Regions from separate parts of the Homo sapiens genome. Here region 2 is linked to region 1. The links are contacts of gene promoters, found by promoter capture Hi-C in blood cells and fetal thymus (Javierre and others, 2016). All regions are on one chromosome and are shown on one strand. Each heading gives the region's core, a stretch centred on a gene start or on the middle of the fragment in contact. The rest is flanking DNA. Distances are from core to core; before and after follow the strand shown.

Evidence for each region. The method cuts DNA at HindIII sites, captures the fragments that hold promoters and counts their contacts. A CHiCAGO score of 5 or more calls a contact.
Region 2: a contact is called between a fragment that was not itself captured here and the fragment with the promoter of RUSF1 in region 1, in 3 of 17 cell types (erythroblasts, endothelial precursors and activated CD4 T cells). The highest score is 6.6, in erythroblasts.

Annotation. Positions count from the first base shown.
Region 1 is chr16:31,504,902-31,510,856 of GRCh38, reverse strand. RUSF1 (RUS family member 1) reads left to right here and starts at 2,466. Exons shown (of 13, transcript NM_022744.4): 1 at 2,466-2,783; 2 at 2,979-3,093. The coding sequence starts at 2,484. It overlaps RUSF1-DT (RUSF1 divergent transcript), which reads right to left and starts at 2,393. Exons shown (of 2, transcript NR_186401.1): 1 at 1,821-2,393; 2 at 1,291-1,684. RefSeq lists enhancers at 1,916-2,485, 2,050-2,764, 2,765-3,480 and silencers at 2,586-2,635, 2,696-2,755. The HindIII fragment of the contact is 29,640 bases long and covers 1-5,955 here.
Region 2 is chr16:31,696,482-31,701,568 of GRCh38, reverse strand. It overlaps the pseudogene CLUHP3. Among named protein-coding and RNA genes, the nearest start is that of KRABD5, 14 kb to the left of the region's middle. RefSeq lists silencers at 603-752, 1,013-1,152. The HindIII fragment of the contact is 5,761 bases long and covers 1-5,087 here.

The sequences.
Region 1 (5,955 bases), core at 1,217-3,716:
GTCTCATCGATCGATTGATTGATTGACTGATAGAATAAAAAATAAATCTTAACCCTAAGGATGAAGAAGAGCTTGGCCTACAATGTCCTGCAGTTTGGCCCCTAACTCCCTAGCAGCCCTTTCCCCATGCCCCTCGTGCTCTAGACTTCTGCTGCACCGGCCTTTGTTGGATGTTAGGTACCATGCTCCCTCCCCACTCAGGACATGCTGCTCCTTCTTTCCAGAAAATTATTTTCCCATCATAATCAAGTTAACTCTTACTCTAGATCTCAGCTAAATACACACTTCCTCAAAAAAAAAGTTTCCCAGCTGGCCTCAACGGCTCATGCCTATAATCCTAGCATTTTGGAAGACCGAGGCGGGAGGCCTGGGCAACACAGAGAGACCCCAACTTAAATTTTTGTTAAAAAATTTCCCTTGGCCGGGCACAGTGGCTCATGCCTGTAATCCCAGCACTTTGGGAGGCGAGGCAAGCAGATGAGTTGAGGCCAGGAGTTCAAGACCAGCCTGGCCAACATGGCAAAACCCCGTCTCTACTAAAAATACAAAAATTAGCTGGGTGTGGTGGTGAATGCTTGTAACCCCAGCTACTCCGGAGGGTGAGGCAGGTGAATCACTTGAACCCAGGAGGTGGAGGTTGCAGTAAGCCAAGACTGTGCCACTGCACTCCAGCCTGGGTGACAGAGGGAGACTCCATCTCAAAAAAAAAAGTTTCCCTTGATTCCACTGATTAGCTCAATTCTCCTTCTAAAAGTCCTCATATTAAATAACATGTACCCCTCTACAGCAATTGAAATAGTTCCAACTTTGCATTTATTTGTATGATTTGATCAATATCCTTCCCTAATATAAGTTCCAAAAGACCAAGACCCTTGTTTGTTTTTGCTCACTATCCCAATGAGCACATAGGTAGCAACAGGTATTTGTAGAAGAAACTGGCAAACCATTGGTAAAAAAGAGATAACAAACACGGAGTTAATGACAACTGCACGGTTCAAGCGATTTTCTTGCCTCCGCCTCCCGGATAGCTGGGATTATGGCCACACCACCCCCACGCCCAGCTAATTTTTGTATTTTTAGTAGAGATGGGGTTTCAACATGTTGGCCAGGCTGGTCTTAAACTCCTGACCTCAAGTGATCCACCTGGCTCGACTTCCCAAAGTGCTGGAATTACAGGCGTGAGCCACCACGCCCAGCCCAAGGATCACTTTTGAGGCCAGGAGTTTGAGAGCAGCCTGGGCAACATAGGGAGGCCCTGCCTCTATTTAAATAAATATGTTTTTAAAGTACTTAGTCTTCAAACCTTGTTTTATTTTTGTCCTCTATTCAAACCAGTACCTGAATTTAGACAACATTACAGAAATGTTGTGATTAGGCCATTTGTATTTTGAAACCCGAAATTTAAAGAAAAAAAAAAAGAAAAGAAAAGAAGTGTTCAAGTTTATCTCAGTCAGAGAGAGACTGTGTTTGTGTGAGATAAGGCGAAGTGGGGTAGAAGGGCCTTCCAGGATTAAGTCCACGAGGAAGGTGACGGTTTGGGAGAATCTGAAGTTTCAAATAAGGAGTTGTCGGTTGGGATCAAACTGTGGGGATCCAAGAATGCCAGGCTAAGAAACCAGGATATTTTATTTTCTGATAAAAAGAGGATGCTTTTTTGGCAAATTTCTGCTTCGGAGTGAAGATGCTGCACTAGATGGGAAGGAGAAGAGGAGAAATGGAAAGAAGAAAAGGTGAGTTCCAAGGACAGAAACACTCCCTCTTTGGACTCCCCCCAATTTCATGGACTCTCTCCCGCAAAAAAACACACAAGAACTTCCTGCCTTGTTTCCTTGTTTTGTGACATCATTGCAATCTCTTGATTTTTTTCATCCCTCGGATTCCTTAGCATCCTTCAAAAGTAATGTTCCTGCAGTCTCGCAGAAGGCCGAAGGATGGAGAATTTCTAGTCCAGGCCAGGGACACTCAGAAGAGAGAAAAAAAAAAGAACAAAAAAAGACCCAAGCAGCTTCACAGGGCCTCATCTGGTCCAATTTCTTCTCATGATGCATTCATTCACTCATAAATATCTTTTGAGCACCTACTATGTGTTGGGTAGATCTAGGGATAAAATCAGGGTTAAAAATACAGTCGCTGGTCTCACAGCAAAAAAGGCACCTGAGGCCCAGAGAGGGCCACTGACTTGCCAAAAGTCACAAGCTAAAACTTCTGTGGCCGAACCGCGTCTCGAACACAACTGGCGGAGGCCCACGGCGCCTGCAGCCCAGCTGCAGAATGCTACAAAGCAACGGGGGCCGGTGCCGGGGCGTCCGAAGCAGCGCCGAGGCCGGAGAGAGCGACAGTCAGTTTCCTAACTGCGCGGCGGACGCCGAGGCCGGCGCCTGTTCTTGAAAGATGTCCCTCTGCAGCCGCGGTAGCCCAGCCGGAAGTGCCGCCTGCCACGTCCACCGTGCGGCAGGGGCGGGGCTGGGATCCAAAAGCTCGGCATGGCTGACGACGCGGGTTTGGAGACCCCGCTGTGTTCCGAGCAGTTCGGCTCCGGGGAGGCACGGGGCTGCCGCGCCGCCGCGGACGGGAGCCTGCAGTGGGAGGTCGGGGGCTGGCGCTGGTGGGGGCTCTCCAGGGCCTTCACGGTCAAACCTGAAGGACGAGATGCGGGCGAAGTGGGGGCTTCCGGGGCCCCCTCACCGCCCCTCTCCGGGCTCCAGGCCGTGTTCCTGCCTCAGGGCTTCCCTGATAGCGTCAGCCCGGACTACTTGCCCTACCAGCTGTGGGATTCCGTGCAGGTCAGCTCGGTCGTCTGGGGCAGAGGACAGTGCAGGCCACTCCTCCCTCCCCAATAATGGACGGGTGACTGAGACTCGGAGCCCGGGGGGCGGGGGGTCTGACATGCCTCATACACCAAGAACAAGAACAGATGAAGGCACTTAGACCGCCACGCTCCTACGCCCGCTTCTCACCCTACTTGTTTTCTTCTCCAGGCGTTTGCTTCCAGCCTCTCCGGCTCCCTAGCCACCCAGGCAGTCTTGCTGGGCATAGGGGTGGGGAACGCAAAAGCCACTGTTTCAGCTGCCACGGCCACCTGGCTCGTGAAAGGTGAGCTGCACCCCTGGAGCCTCACGTATTGCTGCTTTCAGCCCTGCTTTCGCTGGGCTCTTATGTGTATATATGTATGGACTCGTGCCCCATTAGGTAGAATTCAGGCAGGTCTCCCCAGTGATTAGAGTGGTGCTTTGTAACCCAGTCTTACTTCCCACATCTGGAAGACCCTCATCCCACTCACCAGCCTAGCAGCCGCACTCCATTCCCCACACAGACTTCTGAGTCTCAATCATCTGGATCCCAAATCCCGTCCCCTCCCCTTTATCCCTATTCTCTTTGTGGAAGATTGCATAAGAATGCAATTGATGGAATAAAACTGCCAGCTGCCCAGGATAGGGGAAATTGGTGAGCTCCAGAAAAAAAAGATATAGTTGGTCCTGAGAAGGAGAGAGGAGAGCCTGGAAAGAATGGAAGGTATTGTGTATGCTCTGGGATACCAGATGATGCTGTAAATAATAGAGTGACTATCTGCTGAATATGTACAGCTTTTAAAAAATTGTTTAAGGAAAAAAAATACAGTTTGGTACCATGCCACCCAGAGAGGGAAATAGAACAGAAAAGGGAAATTGTTACATGTTCTACACGAGGAGGCCCCATGGCTTTTGCCACTGTCCTTTGTCTTTCACTACTGCTCGCAGGGGATATTTATTAGGCTGGTGCAAAAGTAATTGCGGGGTTTCTTTGTCGTTATTGCCATTAAAGGTAATGGAAAACCCGCAATTACATTTGAGCCAACCTAATAGATCTAAGGAAAAGCGCTTTCCATTCGTAGCATCAGTCTGGCCACATCCCTTGTGAGCCTCTCTGGATTTTTTTGAGAAAACAGGAGCTTCCTGTTTACACCTTTACCATTAAGACTGAGAAAACTGGGCCGGGCACGGTGGCTCACGCCTTTAATCCTCGTACTTTGGGAGGCTGAGGCATCCTGGGCAACATAGGGAGACCCCCATCTCTATTTTTTTTTTTCCAGACTCGTAGTCTCACTGTCACCCAGGCTGGGATGCAGGAGTGCAGTGGCACAATCTCAGCTCACTGCAGCCTCCTCCTCCCGGGTTCAAGCGATTCTCCTGCCTCAGCTTCCCAAGTAGCTGGGATTACAGGCATGTGCCACCCTGCCCCGCTAATTTTTTGTATTTTTAGTAGAGACAGAGTTTCACCATGTTGGCCAGGCTGGTCTCGAACTCCTGACTTCGGGTGATCCATTCGCCTCAGCTTCCCAAAGTGCTGGGATTATAGGCGTGAGCCACTGCGCCCGGCTTGTTGGCCGTATTTTTGGAATGCATTTGGAGCTTGGGTCAGTAGTTTTTGTTTTCATGTGATGTCACCAACATGTTGCCTATACAGATTGAATATCCCTTATCCAAAATGCTTGCAACCAGAAGTGTTTTGGATTTTGGAATTTTTTTTGGATTTTGGAATATCTTCATGTATATAATGAGATTTGTTGGGGATCAGACTCAAGTCTAAACATGAAATTCGTTTATGTTTCATATATACTTTATACACATACCTTAAAGGCAGTTTTATACAGTATTTTCAATGGTGTGCATGAAACAAAGTTTGTGTTCATTGATCCATCAGAAAGCAAAGATGTCACTGTCTCAGCCACACGTGGACAATCTGGTTGGTTAGCGTCCCCATCGTTCCTGACTCTGAATGTATATGCTACCAAGAAGCAGTCATTTTCTTATACCTATTCACACAGAAGTACTTAACAGTATAAAACATGATATACCACTAATACAGTGAGAAATTGTGTGTTCAGGGTAACTAAGCAGCACAGCAGATCACCAGAACACCTGTATCAGCTTCTGAACCATAGCAGCAGCAACAAAAACGGCAGGCTGTCAGTCTTCAGCTGTTTTGGTGAAAAGGTTACTGGACACCATATTTTATTTTTTTAAGGTGAGAAGAAACATTAGAAGCAGTTGAAGGACAGGAAGCGGGTCCTCTAGGGATGAGGAAGTGTTCTGCTGGATGGCTTTTTAAAATGTTTCCTCCAGAGTCATTTGCCTCATTAACTGTGGTTTCTATCTTAGAAGTCTCTCTTGGATTCTATAAACTGCCTGATTTCTTGTTCCGTTATGAATGTATGCTGCTCTAGTGCCACAGTAATCCCCTCCCACATCCTCACCGTGCTGTCTATAGGCACTTTTTCTGTAGTGGTAACAGTATCCTCTTCATTGTCACTGTTACCATGATTGCCTTGATTCAGAACTGAAGGAGGCCAGCCCTTCCACACTGTGGGTATTTCTCATCAGGTGGGACGAGAGACTGAGAAAAGAAATAAGACACAGAGACAGAGTATAGAGAAAGAACAGTGGGCCCAGGGGACCGGCACTCAGCATGCGGAGGACCAGCACCAGCACTGGTCTCTGAATTCCCTCAGTATTGATTACTATTTTCACTATCTCGGCAAGGGGAATGCGGCAGGAGAACAGGGTGATAGTGGGGAGAAGGTCAGCAGGAAAACATGCGAGCAAAGGAATCTGTCACAAATAAGTTCAAGGGAAGGTACTGTGCCCGGATGTGCACGTAGGCCAGACTTATGCTTCTCTCCACCCAGACATCTCAGTGTAGCAGAGTAGCAGAGCAGCATTGCCGCCAGCATATCTCTCCTAATCCTCCTCAGCACAGACCCTTTACAGGTGTCGGGCTGGGGAACAGTCAGGTCTTTTCCTTCCCACGAGGCCACATCTCAGGCTGTCTCAGTAGGGGGAAGCCTTGGACAGTATCCAGGCTTTCTTGGGCAGAGGTCCCTGTGGCTTTCCACAGTGCATTGTGCCCCTGGTTAATCGAGAATGGAGAATGGCAATGACTTTTATGAAGCATACTGCCTGTAAACATATTGTTAAC
Region 2 (5,087 bases), core at 1,112-3,611, 190 kb before region 1:
TACTGAAAGCCTTAGAAGAATTAGGTTGGGGGAACAGGGTGGTGGATTTGAGACCCTCCTTGCCATAGATTTGGAAAATGCAGGGAAAATCAGTCCCCCTGTGGGGTGTTAAAATAATTAAATGGGAGGCAATTTGACTGAAGTGGCTGTAGTGCCCTGGGTTTCTACCTAAGAAAACCAAAACGTAACTCATGCATTTCTTAGAAATAACTTAAAGGAAAAGAAAACACTCTTAACCAACCACAAACCACCAATTAACCTTTGATTACATAATCAGGGAATTTCCGCCTGGACAGTTCAAATAAGGGGACTACGTAATTGTAGCCAATCAATTACTGAATTGGCTTTGCTTCCTCATGCATCTTATTAAACCCTTTCCTTCAAGCCCCTCCGGTGGACCCCAAACCACAATCCATGGTTGTGGCTTCCTGATTCACGGGTCGTTATTTGCTCAGATAAAATCTTTAACGTTTTAACCAAACCTCAGTTTAATTTTTAACAAAAGAAAGAAAGGACTACGGACCCCACGGACCACAGCTCCTCCCACGCCCGAACCCCGAGCCGGGGTTCTCCCCTACGGCCCCTCCCGTCATCACCGCACAACGCGGGGAGACACGGGGCTGCGGGCGCGAAACTGCCCAGAGAGGGCTCAAGGCAGGACCAAGGTCGTCGCGCAGGGACGGGACGAGGCGCCCGGGGTCCCAGCTGCCGGCCGAGCCGCACCGTGTGACCGAGGAGACTCCGGGCCCCGACCCCGGAGCCGCCAGGGGCAGGCCCGGTTCCCAGCCGACCCCTGCCGCGTCTCGGGAAGCTCAGCCCCGCAGACTCACCATCTCGCGGCTTCAGGAGCGTCCCGGTATCCTCTCTAGGGACCGTCCAGTACCTGCAGGTCACAGGGCAAAGGAGGCTGCGGAATGAAGGAGAAAGAGCAGGGTACACAGATCAAGCAGGGAAGCGCACCTGGGAGAGGAAAAGGCCAGCCCAGAACACAGGAAGTGCGCCCCCTTTTTCGGCTGCGCGCCTGATTGGACAGGCTCGACAACGGCGCCGCTGAATGGATAGGGCTCCAGGTCCCGCCCCCTTACCCCCGAGTGACAGGAGATGCGATCACAGGTGTGGCTGAATGAGGCCTGAATGAATGATTGTCTGCAGCCCTTTTCAGGCAGGGCTGACTCCCTGTGCTGGGACCTGGGGCTGCTCCGGACATTGGTATTTAACTTTGCTCATAAGATTATATCAATTTATGAGTAATATAGGTAATATGTAAAATTGAAAATTATATAATAACGATTCTTTTAAAATTTCAGATTTCATAACCTTCATGGCCTCTGGTCCCTTGTGGAGGCAGCATGAGATTTGAAAATGGAGGGAGTCCTCTAAGTCAGAAATGTCCAATAGGAATAAAATTGAGCCGCATGTGTCATTTACAGTAGCCTAGTGGCATCATGAAAGGAAAACAGGTAAAATTGATGGTAATACCTTAACCCGATATATCCAAAATATTATCACTCAAATATGTGAGCAATATGAAATTATTAATGAAGACCACCAGAGAATGCTTCTTAAGTTTGGGGTACTAAATCTTGTAAAGTCACTCTGTATTTAAACTTCTAGCACATCTCAGTTCCAACCAGCTCTATCCAAAGAGCTCAGCAGCCCCACGTGGGCAGTGGCTTCCGCATTGAAGAGCAGATCTGAGGGCACTTGCGCGTCTAACCTCAGGGAAATCGAGGGCCTGGACCCCCTTTCCTGCCAGACGAGAGCGAACACCCTCATCCTGCCCATCTCTTTCCTCATGCCCAAGGGTGGGAGAGGCAGTGCCCAGTGAGAGAGCCAGGGCTGCAGTCAGGAGGTGTCCACAGGTCGACCACTGCTGCCCACCTGCTTCTGGGCAGGGCTCCCTCAGCCTTCCAAAGGTCAGACAGTGAATGAAGAGTGTCAGGCTTCAGGAGGAAACCCCTGACTTCAGATCTGTCTACAGCCTTGACCTCCAAAGTTTGGATGTGGAGGGAATAAAAGCAAATTTTTTTTATTTTGCAATTTGCCCTTGGCCCTGATGGTTAGGCTATGGCGGGCTGTTTCCTCCTATGGTGTGGGGACTGTGTGAGTTTAAGCACCAAGCATGTCAACATGCATTTCTGTATAATTTATCCCTATCCAACAAGAGGCCCCACTTTAAATAAAGGGAAAAGCAAATCAATACCTTATACAGTGCCTTCTGTTTGCCAGGTAACAACAAGTAGTGACCAACCTGTCATTTGAATCCTGGCAACCTGACTGCAGGTGTATGTATCAGTTAGCTATTGCTGCATTAAAAACCACCCTAAACCTTATTAGCTCATGATTGGGATGGTCAGTCATTTAGGCTGGACTCAACTGGGCCATTCTTCTGGTCTCAGCTGGGCTCCTTCAGGCGTGTGTGGTCAGCTGCTGGTTGACTAAGTGGCTCTGCTTCTGGGTGTCAGCTGGGGCACCTTGGTTTTCCTCCCCAGTGGGATCTCATCCTCCAGCAGGCTAACATGTGCTTGTTCTCATGGAGATGGCAGGGTTCTAAAAGAAAAAGCAGAAGCATTCAAGGCCTTATGTCCCTAGACCCCAAACTGTCACATTGCCATATTGATAGCTTTCTATTGCCCAGAGCAAATAAGGCCAGCCCAGATCCAAGCGTCAGGAAACAGATTCTGCCTCTATGTTGGAGCAGCTGTAAAAGCATATTCCAAAGGGCATGGACACCAGAGCCATTTTGCAGTCAGTATCATTCTGCCTTTTCTTACAGCAAGGTTTATATAACTGTTCCAAGTCAAGGAACATGTCCAAAGCACTACAGCTACTAAGTGGCTGGACTGGGACTCTGGATCAACTTTGCCTGACTCCAAAGCCCATGTACCTCCATAGACCTCACAACTCAAGCAGCTTCCCTAGGCCTTTGAGATCCTGAAGACTGACTCTTCTGCAATAGAATAAAGGTTCTTTTGAGATGCTCATCCTTCTAGTAGGATTATTCACAATTAGGAGTAATCCCCACCAGAGAATGCTTCTGAAATGTCTTGCAAACATTTAGATTAACTTGGGAAAATGGCTGATGGCTGAGTTTAAAAAATCAAGGCATAACTTTTTCATTTCTTACCATAGGAGAGATCTGAAAACACATATAATGCACGAACATGTGTGCAAATTATTTTCATCCCCGTGCGTTATTTGTAGTCTGATTATGATTTTTAACACAGACTAAATTAAACTACTGTTCCCGAAACAACGTTTTACTCTGAAAGCAAGAGACACAAAGGTAGATCTGCCGAGAAGACATTTCCTCCTGCCTCAATTTAGCCAAACAGCTGAGTACGTCTTAAAGTCAGCCTTCGATTTCTAACAAGTCAAGCTGTTTGCCAAGACCTCAATCAGATCATAAGAGTGCTTCAGCTACTTCATCATCCTAGAAGGTTGACCAGACAGATCGAAGCTCTGGGGGTGGAGTGGTGAGAGCACCCGCACTAGCAGGTGGGCAGCCATAGGTCCATAGATGAGAGTCATTCATTAGGTGGGGTGTTTTGGGGTCCTGACATTTATGACACAATTAATGTCTATATTACTAAATGTAAATTTTAAAACATTACAAATAATAAATCTACATATAAACTGAATATGTCAGCAATTACAATTATTGTTATTCATCATTATTCTAAGTGTGATCATTATTATTACCACAATTAGAAATAGTGGTTGTGATTGTTGTTGCTGCTGCTGCTGCTGTTGCTGCAGGGATGGTGATAAAAACACCGGGTAAGGCTCTGCTGCCTCCTCCACTTGTGGCATCGGGAGCTGCTGGCTCACTAGTTTGGTGCACACTCTGGACCTCTTTGGTGAAGCTGCAGCTGAAGAGCCTTCAGGCTCTGCTATGGCAGAGAAAGAGCCTGAGTCAAGGCCGAGAGCAGAATCCTGTGAATTTGAAAGTGGCAGGTAGGATGGTCCCGGGGTGCAGTTGATGGTGAAGAGGCACACACCACTTAGTGAATGAGTGGAAGCCTTTGGTGAAAGGCAGAGTTTGTCCATGACACAGATCAGATTCCACTTTGACTGGGGCCAATCAGTGAAACAGACACATCTGCAGAACTGGAAACAGAGGACAAAGATTCAGTTGATGTGTTCCAGAAGCAGACTGGAGTGTCTACTGAGAACACACTCACGGCTTTACCCCAGAACTCTGTTCCTACAGACATTCTCATGTGGAAAACTGCAATATGGTTCCACCACGTCTGATTGGTCCAGTATCCCCTTCTCTATTCTTCACTTTCTCCTTCCTTATTCCTTTACTGTACATAAATTATCAAGTGTAGCTGCACAAGCATATTGATGATTTTGTTTGCTTGCTTGTTTGATTGTACCGAATGGCCACCAGTTTGTGTTGAGTGATTGCCAATGGACACAAGGCGAGGGAAAACACTGATTCTGGGAAAAGACTCCCTTTCTCCACCAGGGGATGCTCACTTACCTCTTATCTCTATGTTCCAGGACTTTAACAACATAACAAACATAATGATCCTTAACGCTTGTTGCAGGGAGAAGAAAAAACCATAATAATCTTTGCATACATTGTTCGATTGGAGAATTTTGTTTTTGAAATATTCCATTGTGAAACTAAGGACAATTTCTTAACTTTCTTAAATGTAGCTGTTACACATAGGGCAAATCTGTCCTCACACAGGACTAAGTGACACTTACAACAACAGAATGAATCCCAGATATGTTCCTCTTCAAATCTGGCCTCTGGTTGTTTAAACATACATCTCGTGTAAAATATATATATTTAAAAATGTGTATAAATAGAAACATGAAGTTCCTCTAGCCACCAAGTAGGTTGGTTGGACTCAAAATGAGGTAGAAGGAGTTTCCATCTGCAGTACATTTGAAGTCCTCCTAGGAACCAGGGAACTGTCCACACCCTCTGAAGCTAGTCCCCTCCTCTTCTGCCTGGGGCAGGGTGCCCTGTGAGATTCCCATGTCCTGGCCCAGGAGGTATATGGAGGGTGGGAGGTTGTCGGTCTCACACCCAGCAGACATCCCTAGCCCAGGACTCTCTGGAAGGTATT